Linked DNA regions of Homo sapiens: region 2 is linked to region 1. Evidence: promoter capture Hi-C in 16 types of primary human blood cells and fetal thymus (Javierre and others, 2016). All regions are on one chromosome and are shown on one strand. The core of a region is centred on a gene start or on the middle of the fragment in contact, and the rest is flanking DNA. Distances in the headings are between cores, read along the strand shown.

What was found. Contacts are between HindIII fragments. The CHiCAGO score rates a contact against its expected background, and 5 or more counts as called.
Region 2: a contact is called between the fragment with the promoter of SCN7A here and the fragment with the promoter of SCN9A in region 1, in 1 of 17 cell types (fetal thymus). The highest score is 6.9, in fetal thymus.

Annotation. Positions count from the first base shown.
Region 1 is chr2:166,372,926-166,379,957 of GRCh38, reverse strand. SCN9A (sodium voltage-gated channel alpha subunit 9) reads left to right here and starts at 4,014. Exons shown (of 27, transcript NM_001365536.1): 1 at 4,014-4,261. The HindIII fragment of the contact is 2,904 bases long and covers 1,519-4,422 here.
Region 2 is chr2:166,491,553-166,498,274 of GRCh38, reverse strand. It overlaps SCN7A (sodium voltage-gated channel alpha subunit 7), which reads left to right and starts at 4,026. Exons shown (of 26, transcript NM_002976.4): 1 at 4,026-4,307. The HindIII fragment of the contact is 2,984 bases long and covers 1,577-4,560 here.

The DNA.
Region 1 (7,032 bases), core at 2,765-5,264:
AGCATCTACTACATGCAAGACAAAACATTTATTTTTCTTCACATCAGTTTTCTGGCCAAAAAAATCCAGACCACGTCAAATTAGACGAGCAAACACTCAGATGCCAATACATTTAGGAAACCTCTTTTCTTCAGTTGTTTCATTAAGCATCATTTGCCCATCTCATCACTCCAATCTATGTCTGATAATCTTCATTGTATATTCTATTTCTTTTTAGTTATAATTTGAAGTTCTACTTTTGAATCCTACTTTTTAGCTATGTATACACAAAACTTGTAACTTTATTCTTCTATTTTCACAACAGAATAATTGTTTTTTCTTACTTTGTAATATTGCCGTGCAGCCAATATTAGAAGGTAAAAGTATTTTTCTAATCCTATTTAATTAGAGAAAAACAAACTCTTTCAGTATTGTATTAATTTTATTGCCTTAATATTACTGTCTATTTTTTGTTCTTCCAGAAACTTCTACAGTTTTGAAAATTGCAGTGGCAATTGTGGAAAATACAGAAGTGTGGATATCCATTTATTTCTCACTAAGGGAAATAAAATTCTTATTCCTATTCTGGTATGGATTGTATGATGTTAGTTAATTTCCATGACTCAACATTTCCACATTTTTCTATCTAAGTTACGGAAGGTCAGTTGTAAATATGATTAGGAACTTATTGGTTATTGGCTTTTTCAACCAGACAGGCTTTGTCTGGTTCCCTTAATTCAAGCCTACCCTTTAAATTTTAAACGTACCATCTACTTATGTCTACATCTGACGCTGTCATTTAGTGTTTAATGAACTCTCAAGGCTGTGCAGTGTAGTATTTAATAAGAAATTTGGAAAGATACTTTTTCTGGGTTTAAACCAAGATAAAATTTCTAGGGCTGCCAAAAGAGCAAGAAAAACACAAACAGCTAATGTTCTGTAGACTAGGAATGGCACATAAAAGAAATGGAAAGGAAATAAATAGTTGGAACATGAAAGAAAATTGGGAAAATAATGAATAATATACCTAATGCTTTGCCTATGAGCTCACAGGGAAAATCCTGCAAGGGATCCCTCAGTCAGACCAAGAGGATTTTATTTTTGGTTTTATCATTTTCCAGGATTTTATGTTTGAAGATCTCTAACAAGAACCTAGATATATTGAGAATAGTAAGTTCTTGTTAATGGATGCTTAAAGTGGAATATATAATATGTTATATATTATATACAACATATGTATTATACATAACATATATTATAACATAATATAGTAATATAATATATAACATGTTATAATATATAGGTTATATATAATGTATAATGCATTATATATTCCACTCTAAGAATGTATCTAACATATGTGTTATTCTAGATATAACAGCAAAGGCATAATCTATAAGAGACATAATTGCTAAGGTGAACTGCATTAAAATTAAAAACTTCTGCTCTGCAAAAACGGACAACAAGCCAGTGTTAGATAAATATTTGCAAAAGACACATCTGACAAATGACTGTTAACCAAAATATACAAATAAAGCTTAAAACTCAACAACAAGAAAAGAAATAACCCAATGAAAAAAATGGGCCATATACCTTAACAGACCAAAGAAGATGCACATATTGCAAATAAGCATATAAAAAGGTGATCCACATCATATATCACAGGGGAAATGCAAATCAAATAACACTTATGGTATCAACAATGGGCATGAGATACCACCACATATGTATTGGAATAACCAAAATCCAGAACACTGATGATATCAAGTTCTGGCCAAGGATGTGAGGCAACAGGAACTCTCATGTATTGCTGGTGGGAATGCAAAATGCTCCAGCCACTTTGAGGACAGTGTAGCAGTTTCTTTAAAAACTAAACATACTCTCACCATATGATCCAGCAATTGTGCTCCTTGATGTTCACCCAAAGGACTTGAAAACATGTCCACACAGTAACCTTCACAAAGATGTTTATAGAGGCTTTACGCATAATTGCTAAAACTTGGAAGCAAACAAGATGTCCTTCAGTAGGTGAATGAATAAACTATGGTACCACCAGTCAATGGAATATTATTCAGCACTGTAAAGAAATGAGCTATCAAGCTATGAAAAGCCATGGAGGAAAACTAAAAGCATATTGCTAAGTGAAAGGAGTCAATCTGAAAGGGCTATATTCTGTATTATTGCAACTATAGGATATCCTGGAGAAGGCAAAACTATAAAGACAGTAAAATGATCAGTACTTGCCAGGGGTTGAAATGGGAGATGAATAAGTGGAACACAGAGAATTCAGGAGAGAACTGAAATTACTCTGTAAGATACTGTAATGGTGGATACATGTCATTATATATTTGCCTAACCCCATAGAATGGACAACACCATGAGCTAACCCTAAATGTGAACTACAGACCTTGGGAGATAATGAAACCTCAAAGTAAGTTCATTAATTTTAACAAATGTTTCATTCTGGTGGGGAATGTTGATAATGGGGGAGGCTATTCTTGTGTGGGAGTAGCGGTTATGTGGGAAATCTCTGTACCCTCCCTTCAGTTTTGCTGTGAACCTAAAATTGCTCTAAAAATAAAATTTTAAAAATAAAAGAATGTGGCATTGCTTGCATCTAATAAAAAAGACCATTATTCCTATTGCAGTTGAACTCTTCTTCCTATATCTACCACCAATCAGGGAAGAGAAGGCGATTTGTCCAGGATATGGCACTGAGAATTATCACAAGTGAGCTAGTTCACCTTCATTGCACAGTCTCAGTCACTGAAGTTTCCTTCCTTCAATAGCACATCTTACAAGTCAAGAATGTAAGGTCCAAAGCCCCAGGACAAATCTCAGAAGCAAAGAAAGCAGCAGGGAAAAGTAGACCCTGGGATTTGATTTCCTTCCGGTTATCTCTAAGCATCATTTCCATGATAGAAGGTGTGGAAGCAAATAATAAAAGTGCCCGTCACTAGTGTTTATCCTGCAAAGTGGTCTGCCCTTTTGAGAGGCACCCTGCCCTATGGCCATCCTTTGATTTCTTCCCTTGGTGGAAATTTCCTGTTTCTCTTTGAGAAAGATAATTCAACCCTGTTTCCATTGTTCTTCCTCCCAGGCTGCTGTAGGAAAGCGCACGCACACACTCCACACAAAATGAATTTTTAAAAAATTTATTTTCACAGTCGCTCCTACCAGCTCTGAAATTCAGAACCCATATGACTGATGGCATATTCAGATAATCGGGTCCCAGGTCTGGAAAAGCAGCCTTTTCCCCACGTTTCTTTCCCCACCTAGGACCTCCTCTGATTCTTCACTGCATCTTCGAAAGAAAATGTATTATTTGCTTGCCTGGAAGACGCTGCAATTCAATTGATTTTATATATACATATATATAAAGAAAACAGAAAACATAGCCTAGATACCGGTCTTGAGCGTCACCGCCCCACTCGCGGTTGTGAGCAAAGCCCTACGGAAGAAACCAATTCCCAGCCTAGACTCTTCAGAGCCCAAGGTCGGGGAGGCGCTGGCCTGGCGGTGTTGTCTGGCTCCCCAGCCACTGCCCCAGACTCAGGGCTTTGCCATTGGTCCCCACCTCCTCTGCTCCGGAGTTTTTCTCCAGCTCCCCACCAAGCCACACAAAGTGACTTCTCGGAAACATTAGCCGATTCTGCTGAGCAGGAAGGGAGGAAAGGGATGATGGGGGCGGGGGTGAGATAAGGGAAGGGCTCTTCTGGCTGCTGGACACACACACACACACACTCAAACACACACACGCCCCACCCAATGGGTGGCCGTGGATGGCAGGTCGTGCAACCCCCTCCTCCGCCTTCTATTAGCGCATGGTGCAGAGGCTACAGCGTCGCCACCACCGCGCCCCTAGCTGGGTCCCCGCCCTGCGCCGCCCGCAGGAGTGGAGAGAGGGAGGGAGGGAGGGAGCAAGGGGTGGGGACCCGGGCGCGCTGGGAGGAGTGGAGGAGGCAAAGCGGCGCAGCTGCCCTCGGGGAGGCGGGGCTGCTACCTCCACGGGCGCGCCCTGGCAGGAGGGGCGCAGTCTGCTTGCAGGCGGTCGCCAGCGCTCCAGCGGCGGCTGTCGGCTTTCCAATTCCGCCAGCTCGGCTGAGGCTGGGCTAGCCTGGGTGCCAGTGGCTGCTAGCGGCAGGCGTCCCCTGAGCAACAGGAGCCCAGAGAAAAAGAAGCAGCCCTGAGAGAGCGCCGGGGAAGGAGAGGCCCGCGCCCTCTCCTGGAGCCAGATTCTGCAGGTGCACTGGGTGGGGATGATCGGCGGGCTAGGTTGCAAGTAAGTGCCTTTTCTTTTGCTGCTTCTGTGGGGAGGGGAGGAGAAGCCCTCGGTCTTTCGCCCGTGCTCGCCTCAACCGCCACACCCACCTGTGTCTATTTTCACATCTCGGTTCTGGAACCCTGTATTACGCCACCTGGAAAGAAGAGAGGGGAGAAGCTTGACCGGGTGGTTCCAGCAATGGGAGGAAGAAGGGCTGGAAGCGTAGTTATTTCGATAGCTGGGCAGCTCCTGTGCGGTTTTGACTCTGTGGGTTTGCTGCCAGGTTCTGAAACTGTGGAAAGGAAGGGTAGCAATGCCTGGTGGTTTACTGTCTTTTATTTCTGTTTACGCTAGCAGAGTTGTTAGATGGACTTCAATTCAAGGGGCAGCTCACATTTTTTACGAGCAAAAAGCATGTGCTGTATTTCCCATCTGCAAAGCTGAGCGTGCAGAACCAGCTTAGCAGATACAACCTGTGGGGACAGAAAAGAACCCCGCACCCCTTAAGAGCACACAAACACAAATAATTGACAGGACAGCTCTGCCCCTATTTCTCAGCGCAGATTATTTATTTATTTTTTCGAATAAGCACTTTATAGTGAAATTCAGAAAAGATGCAGAATCCTTTTAACTTTTTATCGAATTCAACTTGGGAAACTCATTTACTTTTAGGAAAAAATGGATATTTTCGTGCCTTATATTCAAGACAAAAATCAGAACAAGAAACTAGAAACATTAATGCCAGTTTTTGTGATTATAGTAAACATTTCACTCATTATTTTAGTTTTTTTTTTTTAAGTTGGAGCGTTCATAGATTATATCTACTCTGATGTTAAGAGCAATTTACATGAGAAACTTAGGGGGGTTTTTAAGAAGCTAGTGTCAGTAAGATAAAAGCCAAATCAAAGTAAGCTTTCAAGGAAGTGATAGCTTGTCAGTTACTGAATAGGAAGTCAGTGTTGGGAAGTTCAGTTCTTTTCAGAAACATATTTATTATTCTTTTCTATTTCTTCTTCCCTGTAGACAAGATAAAGATTTTCTTTCTCTTTCTTTCCTTGTTATTTAAATATATTTTATAATTTTTGCTTTAACATCAATATAAACCTATTTTATATAAACTGCAAACCAAATCCAATTATTAAACTGTTCATTTTATTGCAAATTCTTCAGATTTTTTCCACTATTTAAAAAAGTTTATAATTTTTTCTTATAATTATGGTGAGATTTTTTAAAAATTATTGATTAGTTTGAAAGCTAGTCTTATCTGATCCCTGTGTCGCAAATTTTCATGATTGTTAGACTAGCTTATCAACAACAAAACTCTAGACAGAATATGGTATTTGATGTAAAGAAGAATGTGCCCTCTATTTAGGCAACTGATAGTTTGGCTTAAGACAAGTTTTTTAAAATTTTGTAGAGGTTTAAAAGGAGGTTTCCTTAAGTAAGCCACTGTGCAGTTGTGGGACTCAGTGATGTGTTTTTACAGTGACTGGATATATGATATGCCTTGATTCCTATGGTGCAGGGCTAGGCTCACAGAGTACCTGATGCTTCTACAGAAGAAAGATGAGTCAGGTCTGGCTCTCTGCCAAAAGCATCTTGGGCCTCCTTTCCCCTAGGGCCTGCATATAATCATGGGAGCCCTTCTGTGGTAATGCTTCTATGTTTTTACTACCTGTTGCTGTGCTGAGTTTCAGAAGCAAAATAGATAAACAAATAAATAAATTCAGAAGAGCAATCAGTAGGGTTCTATTTATTTAATATAATCAACCCACTTTCTCTGTGGCAAGGAAAAAAGTAGAATTTTTCATTTTACATGAATAATAAAATCTATTTTTTATCCAATTTCTATTCCTATTAGTTATGCAAAAGAGTGTGAAGTGCTAGAAGGATTTATATGGTACTTTTCTAAGACAAGTCATGATCTTGTAAAAGAGCTTAAAGTTTATTGATGTAAATGGAACATTCTAGATGTCATAATGATAATAATTTATGACTTTCCCTAAAACTCTGTCTCAGATTCTTTCCTCCCATCTTCATTATCTGAATAAATGCCTTCACCATCCAAGTATTGAAATCACCTTTGATTGCTCTCTTCCTTATTACTCCATTTCAGCCCTTTCCAGCCTGTAAGTAGATCTATCAATCTTATCTCCCAAACTTATTTCTATTTCATCATACGTCTCAGATGCCTCTCATTCACCCTCTTTTCTGTATCTACACGGCCACCAAATTAGTTCAGGTCATCATCATAATTTACTTGGAATCCTGCCACAGCCTCCATATCAATCTCTCCACTTCTGTAATTTTCTCCCCTGCAATTCATTCTCTATACAAAGCAATACCATCCTGTCTCCCCTAACAAACATTGGCTCACAACTGCATTTAAAAAAAAAAAAAAAGAGGAAGAAGAAGAGGAGAAGAAGAAATAAACATGGCAACACAGAGACCAATTAGCAACAACAGTAAATGCCTTTCCTCAGCATATGGTTTACTCTCTGTTCTGTCCCTTCTCTCCAACCTCACCAGAACCTATTCTCTTCTCATTAAGGTGCTCCTGCCCAGGTCGTGGCTAAAACACATGAAACAATAGCACTCTTTAAGGCCTTTTCAAATGCTGTTCCCAATGCCTGAACTCTATGCGTGCTTACTCCTTCTTAAACTTTAAATCTCAACTCGAGGTTTTTTTGTTTTGGAAAGATCATTTTTGATCATCTTGTTAAAAGTAGGTTGTCCCGTGTTGGTCTTGATGTTGGAACCTTGTTTCTTTCATACTGCTTGTTACAGCA
Region 2 (6,722 bases), core at 2,777-5,276, 120 kb before region 1:
TCTACTAAAAATACAAAAATTAGCCAGGCATGGTGGCACACGCCTGTAATCCCAGCTACTTGGGAGGCTGAGGCAGGAGAATTGCTTGAACCTGGGAGATGGAGGTTGCAGTGAGCTGAGATCGCACTACTGCAGTCCAGCCTCGGTGACAGAGCCAGACTCTGTCTCAAAAAATAAAATAAAATAAAATAAAAAATCATAAAATTCAAATGATTCAGAAGACAGGATTCTACAATATGATTCACATTATATTCATCTTTCAATAAATCTAGGCTTGCATTGTGACAGCGAACCAAAATGAGTCTCTATTTTATATTATCCTATAATAAGGCTGTGGGAAGTATCCATTCACACTCTTGACACTGATGTGTTTGAGGTAAGAATAAACAACCCTTATTTAAATGGGCTAAAAGGAAAGTAAAGTCTCCCAGGGCCTATCTGGTTCAAGTGCAGTGTGATAGAGGAGGTTTCTCTCTTGACAAGGCAGAACATCTGGGTCTAGATCTTCTACCTTCTGAATGCATTCCAAGAAGCACAGCTCCCTTTTTTGCATTTTATTTTATTTTACTTTATGGTAAATTAATAAATAATTGTATATTTATGGGGTACACTGTAATGCTTTGATTTGTATATACATTGTAAAAAATTGAATCAAGCTAATTAACATATCCATTGTCTCACCAGCTTATCCTTTTTTTGTAGTATGTTAAAAAATCTATTCTTTAAGCAATTTTCAGATATACAATGTTATTTTTAGCTGTAGTCACCATGCAATGCAACAGATCACTAAAATGTATTCATCCATTCTGAGACTTTGTACTCTTTGATCAACATTTTCTATTTCCTTCTCCCTCCCCTTCCCAACCTCTAGAGACGACATTTCTACTCTGTTTATATGAGATTGACTTTTTTAGTTCCACATATAAGTGAGATCATGTGGCATTTATCATTTGGTGCCTGGATTATTTAATTTAACGTAATGTACACCAGTACCACCTCGTCTTGAATGACAGAATTTCCTTCTTTGTAAAGGCTGTGTGGTACTTAATTTTGTATATATACCACATTTCTTTACCTAGTTATCCAGCAATAAACATTTAGGTTGCTTCCATATCTTGGCTACTGTGAATAATGCTGAATTAAAGTAGGACTGCAACTATCCTTTTGACATAGAAATTTAAATTCCTTTGGATATATACCCAGGAGTGGGATTGCTAGATCATATGGTAATTCTATTTTTAGTTTTTTGAGTTTACTATTTTCCAAAATGGCTGTACTAATTTACATTCCCACCAGCACTGTACAGGGTTCTCTTTTCTCCACATCCTCACCCACACTTGTTATCATTCATCTTTTTGATAATGTCAGAATGAGATATCACCTCACACATGTTAGAATGGCTATTATCAAAAATAGCTTAGGTTTGAGGCTGAGTGCTTTATTTCTCTGCATCCCTTGGTATTCCCCATAGACATGACTGGACTTTCTTATTACCATTTCTTTTCAGGCAGGCTCATGCTTTATATCAAGATTCTGAAACCAGAGGAAATTCTCACACCTGTATATTATAGAAGCTTTAAAGCATCCAAGCACCAGGTTTTAAGAATGAAACAGATCAACAAACAATTCTCATGTTCTTTAGATTGCATGTGATCTATGGTCTATTCCTATAGTGAATCTCCACATTTTCCCACAAAGCATAGAGTGGATTAGGTATGAATAATGCTCAATACTTTAGCAAATATACTGGGTACCTACTCTATTACATCCTCTCTTACAAGTGCTATTGTAGAGCAGGAAATAAATAAGTCTCAGCTGTCATGCAGAAAGCAGTCTAGTGGAACAAGACAGAAAATAAACATATAAGCAATAGCTATTTCACAGGCCAGATAAGCACTAAGAAGAAATACAAAGCAGTTGCTAACTACAATAGGATTCAAATTGTGAAAGTGGGAATTGATAGCAGAGATGATTTGGAGAAGAAGATAATCCATTAAGGATGAAATCAGAAGTTAGGCTGTTGGATGCTTCATCCAAATAGTTGTTGGTATTCAAATGGATGAGAAAGTTTTTAAGAAGGAAAGCAAGAGTTTGAATGGAGGGAAAGACTGTCAACCACAGAATAAATTCTTAATAAATAAGAGTGTCCATAAAGGCAGAACATAATGGCTACCATGTAGCCAGGTAGAAAAAGATGATGAAACTGGAGAACATATCTCCAAAGAAAGAGTTTTGGGTTTGTTTGAGTGTGTTTTGGGAGAGTTGTTTGCTTGTCTTTTTATACAGGGTTTTGTCAACTCTGGATGTAGAGACTTTTTTGAGAATTAAAACATCGAGTCCATCCACACTTCTGACACTGACATCTCTGAGGTCACAATAAACAGCTCCCATTTAAACAGACTGAAAGGAAGCTAATGCCCACAGTGGCGTATCGAGTTCAAGTGTAGTGTGATACAGCCAGCTTCTCTCCTGACACAGAAGAGTATGTGGGGTCTAGAGCTCCCACCTACTGAATACATACTTAGAAAGTAGAGTTTAGAAATATGCTTATAAAGTTCTTAAGGCAGAAATGTTGAAAACAGACCCTCCACTATGTAGTTCCTCCTGCTGAGAAACTCAGTGGGGGAGGAAGGATCCTCAGCTCATTATTAGGGGCACGATAATTGCCAAAACTTTTCAGATCCAACCTGGTAATATTACATAACCGTTATATAACCGTAGTGCCAAATATTTGTCCCAAAACAAATATTTGTTCCAAAACAAGAAAATGGCTAGCTAACTCAGAATATAAAACCAACACCATTAGTTTCCCATCTATTTGCCTCTCATTTATGTGATTGGTTTGTACAATATCTTGGGATCAACTGCCTGTTCATTACACATTATAAAAAGCAGTACTTCTTTTTATTTATTTTAAATATCACATGGAAACTTTGAAATATTTGATATTAAGTTCATTAAATTTATATTGTGTTTGAATGTACAGAAAGGTGTGTAGAATTTTACTGGGTGAAAAGGGATATATGTGTCAGACTGCTCTAAGGGAAGGTTTTATGCTCTAGAAAATTCATTTGCATCATCACCAGAGTGTGGAGAAGAGAAGCCTGCAGTCAGTCAATTGTCCATTATAAAGAAATCAAGTGAATGTTTGATGCTACAAAATAATTATTGCTAATTATAGATGTGATCAGGGTATTGAGTTAAAATCTTAAGTTCTTACCATTCAGAGACATATGCTGATATATTTTTGAAGTAAGTGATGTGATGTGTGCATAAAATAGGGTTACAAAATGAAGGTTCTATGGTGTGGCCTTTGGGAAGAAGGTGCAACCCCTCTGGCCTTCACTCCCAAACTACACTGTATTGCCGCAGTTTTCTAAAATAAACATAATTTTTCCTCTGTCCCTCGTGTTTCAAATCACTAGAGTGGGAAACTGATCCAGAGTAAAAGCCAGCTCCAGCTGACTCTTGACTCTCCTAAAAACAGCTACACACATACTCACACAACAACAGGATTACAAACTCTTAATTACAGCAATGTCCAGATTTGAATGCTGCAGGCTGACAATTGCCCCTCTAAGTTCTGCTGGGGCACCTAGGCAAGGGGAGAGAGAATACAACTGGAGGTTAAAGAACCAGAGTTTTCTGTCTTCCTCTCCTCTCCCTCATTTTCACTCTCCCTTCCCCCTCAGCTGCACCGCGCTGCTCCTTTTCCTCTCCTCCTTGGATGTTCCCTAGCCCCTTCATTCCTTCACGCTCTGCAGGCCCTCTCCCCTCTACCCCTCCTCATCAGCCCCCCGCTCCTCTTCCTCCCTCCCTTCCCGGCAGCTGCTGGAGGAGACGCCACAGCTGCTGCTGTTACTGCATCTGCAGCAGGTCTCTGTCAATATCACCCGCCCACGCCCGATCTGGATGCTGAAGTCGCTCACTGGCCTGGAGATTAGGGCGGGGGAGAGAGTGGAGTGGCTGGGAGAGGGGAGGGAGGAGTGGAAAGGAGACAAAAACAGCTTCCAAGCAGCGGGCGCGGCTCCACTGGACATCTGGGTAGGAGGGGTCTCTGGGTCAGTGGCTGGAGAGTCGCCCCAGTGAGTCGGTGTCTAACTGGCCATTTAGTGGGGCCCATTTACTGCAGAGCCACAGCTGGTGAGGACAGACGCCAGCCTAACAGCAGCTTCTGTACAACTAGAGCTCAGAAAACCCGAGAGATCCGTGGAGAAAGAGAAGCCCAGGAGGAGGAAAGGGCTCCAAGGAGCCCTGCTCCTGAAGGGTCCCTCAGGCACTGGTGGAGACCTGTCGCTTCGTAGCAAGTAAGTGCCTTTTTCTTGCTGCTGTGTCCAGTCCCAGAATGGTGATAGCCGCTATCCGCTGCCAGCCTTTCCCATCCACTCCCACCTGCCCCATCCCATACACACCCTTAGGGTCCCCAGCAGGAGGACAGAGATTTGAAATTGTGGACGTGCATTAGGAGAGTTACTTCAAGAGTATACTTCAAGAGCAGCCGTGGTCTGTGGGTGTTTGCATGGCATGTGCCGTCAGTTTTCTAATTCCATCAGGTAAGCTTCTGAAACCAACATTCTCTGTTAGTGTAAAATTCTAGAAACCCTATATGACAATGACTTACATTACATGGTACAATGATAGTATAAAATGGAGGAAAGGTTATGCAGATTGTTGTACACTTCTTCTAAGAATCCTATCTCTTATTCTAAATAACAGAGATTTCAAGATTGATTTTCCCAAAGGAATAGATAGTATAAAAGTAGAGGCATTGATGTGATTGGCAGTGGTGTGCTCAGTTTAGTCAGTTGGGCATTTTGGTATTGACTAGATCAACAGAGATTGTTGTTGTTGTTTTTGCATTGTTTTGCTCTATAAAATGCATCTCTTCTGGAGGTTTTCTTTTAGAAGTGATAGTGTGACTGGTTGTGTTAGCTTCAAAACTTAGAACATTGGTCAAAACAAGACAAATGATGAGTGCATGTGGAATGACACACCGATGGGCCCCTTTCATTAACGAAAATGATGGGTTCCAGTTTGGATATTGGACTGAAAAATATCTTGAAATGGGAAAGAGTTTGGGTGGTGCTTCTTGTGGATACTTTACCCCACTGCTGTTCATTCAGGAGAGCAATTTATGGCAAAGTAGAAGGAAAGTGGGCCCTGTAATAAACAGAATCCTGGGCACCATACCTGCTATGACTAGCCTTAATTAAAGATTCTATAATCCAGCTGCTGTTTTTACAAGTAAGACCTATAAGGAGTAATTTGCTGAGGCTACCTGGCAAATCAGTAATTGAGCGGGAAGTCCAATGAACAAGTCTTTGGGATTTAGAACTACAAAACTTGATTTCAATTTTTGTACAAATTAAGCCAATTATTTAACTTGAGTAAGCTTTATTTTCTTTATTTATAAATGACACTCCAAAAAGTCCTGACAAAAACTAATTGACAGAGATGATATAAAGGGTTTATGAAAGTACCATATGTGTAACTGTTGATTACATAAGGGATTATTCTGTGTTTTTATCTACTTCACTATTCTGATTTTCCTTCTAAGTCTGATTCAATATAAGCATACAGAGGGCTTTGACATGCATCTCTAGAATGCACTAGAGGAAGTGAAATTCAAATCCTTTTCTTGCCACCTGTACAGTTTAAAGCATATTCTAATCTGAAAGCCTTTATCCTCAAAAAAGTGAAAAGTGTGTGCTTTGGCTAGCTTTGCATATTTAAACCTTGTAATATTCTCCAAATATGCTTTACCCTCTTTCTGTTTTTAGTTTTAAAATTGATTTTAGGTCTGTAGTCCTGTTTCCTGGGGATGAAGCCATCACGTATATTGGATATTGCTGAATGTATTTGGCCCGTTACTTAACATAGGAGAAATCAAAATTTAGGCATAAATACTCTAATCTTGACTGCAAAGATTCATTAAAATCTTGCACCTGGGGGATAGGTACTGTGAGTCCCTTCTTTCCCATGGATATGTTTAAAGTAATAGAAGAAAGAACTCAATTTGTACATGGGCTCAGGAAAAGGGGTCATCAGATCCCAGATGGCACACGACCGTTGGACCTGCTGCTGCATATCAGTCTCTACTGGAGTACTGGAGGCAGAGCCAAGCACTTCAAAACTGGGCATTCTGTCTCCGTAGCCTCGTGTGGTAGATGGTTTGGTAGCGGATATACACTCTCACTGATTTTCCCAAAGTAGGATAAATACCTGTCCAAAGCATACTAGAAATAAAAATAACAGTATTTTCCCCAATCCCTTACTCAGGGATTGGGAAATCTGCACTCCAGCCCTAGATCTCATTGGGTTGAGATACGTGTCACAACTGGGGTATTCAGAGATTGACTCACCATCTACCTACTGCCTTAGACTCCCTCCTGAAAGCTTATGGTGGAGGCATTGGGTAAAAGGGACATTCTTGATTTCTGGGAGTCTGATCCCATTATTTCCACTAACCATTTTCAGTATTTGTCAGTGTGAGAAGAACATCTATAACCTCTGCCCACCCCCACCCCCACTCCAGATATCAGCAATGCACAGTCACCCATTATCACATGAGAAAATCTTGTACAAACAGATGTCACTTTTCTTTTCCTGCGTTGGTTCCTTCTCTTCTGTTAGTGAGGACTAACCAACCAGACAAGTGAGGTCTCATTGCAGCAACATTGAAAGAAGGAGCCTTTGAAGTTAAAGATAAGATTTCATCTGAG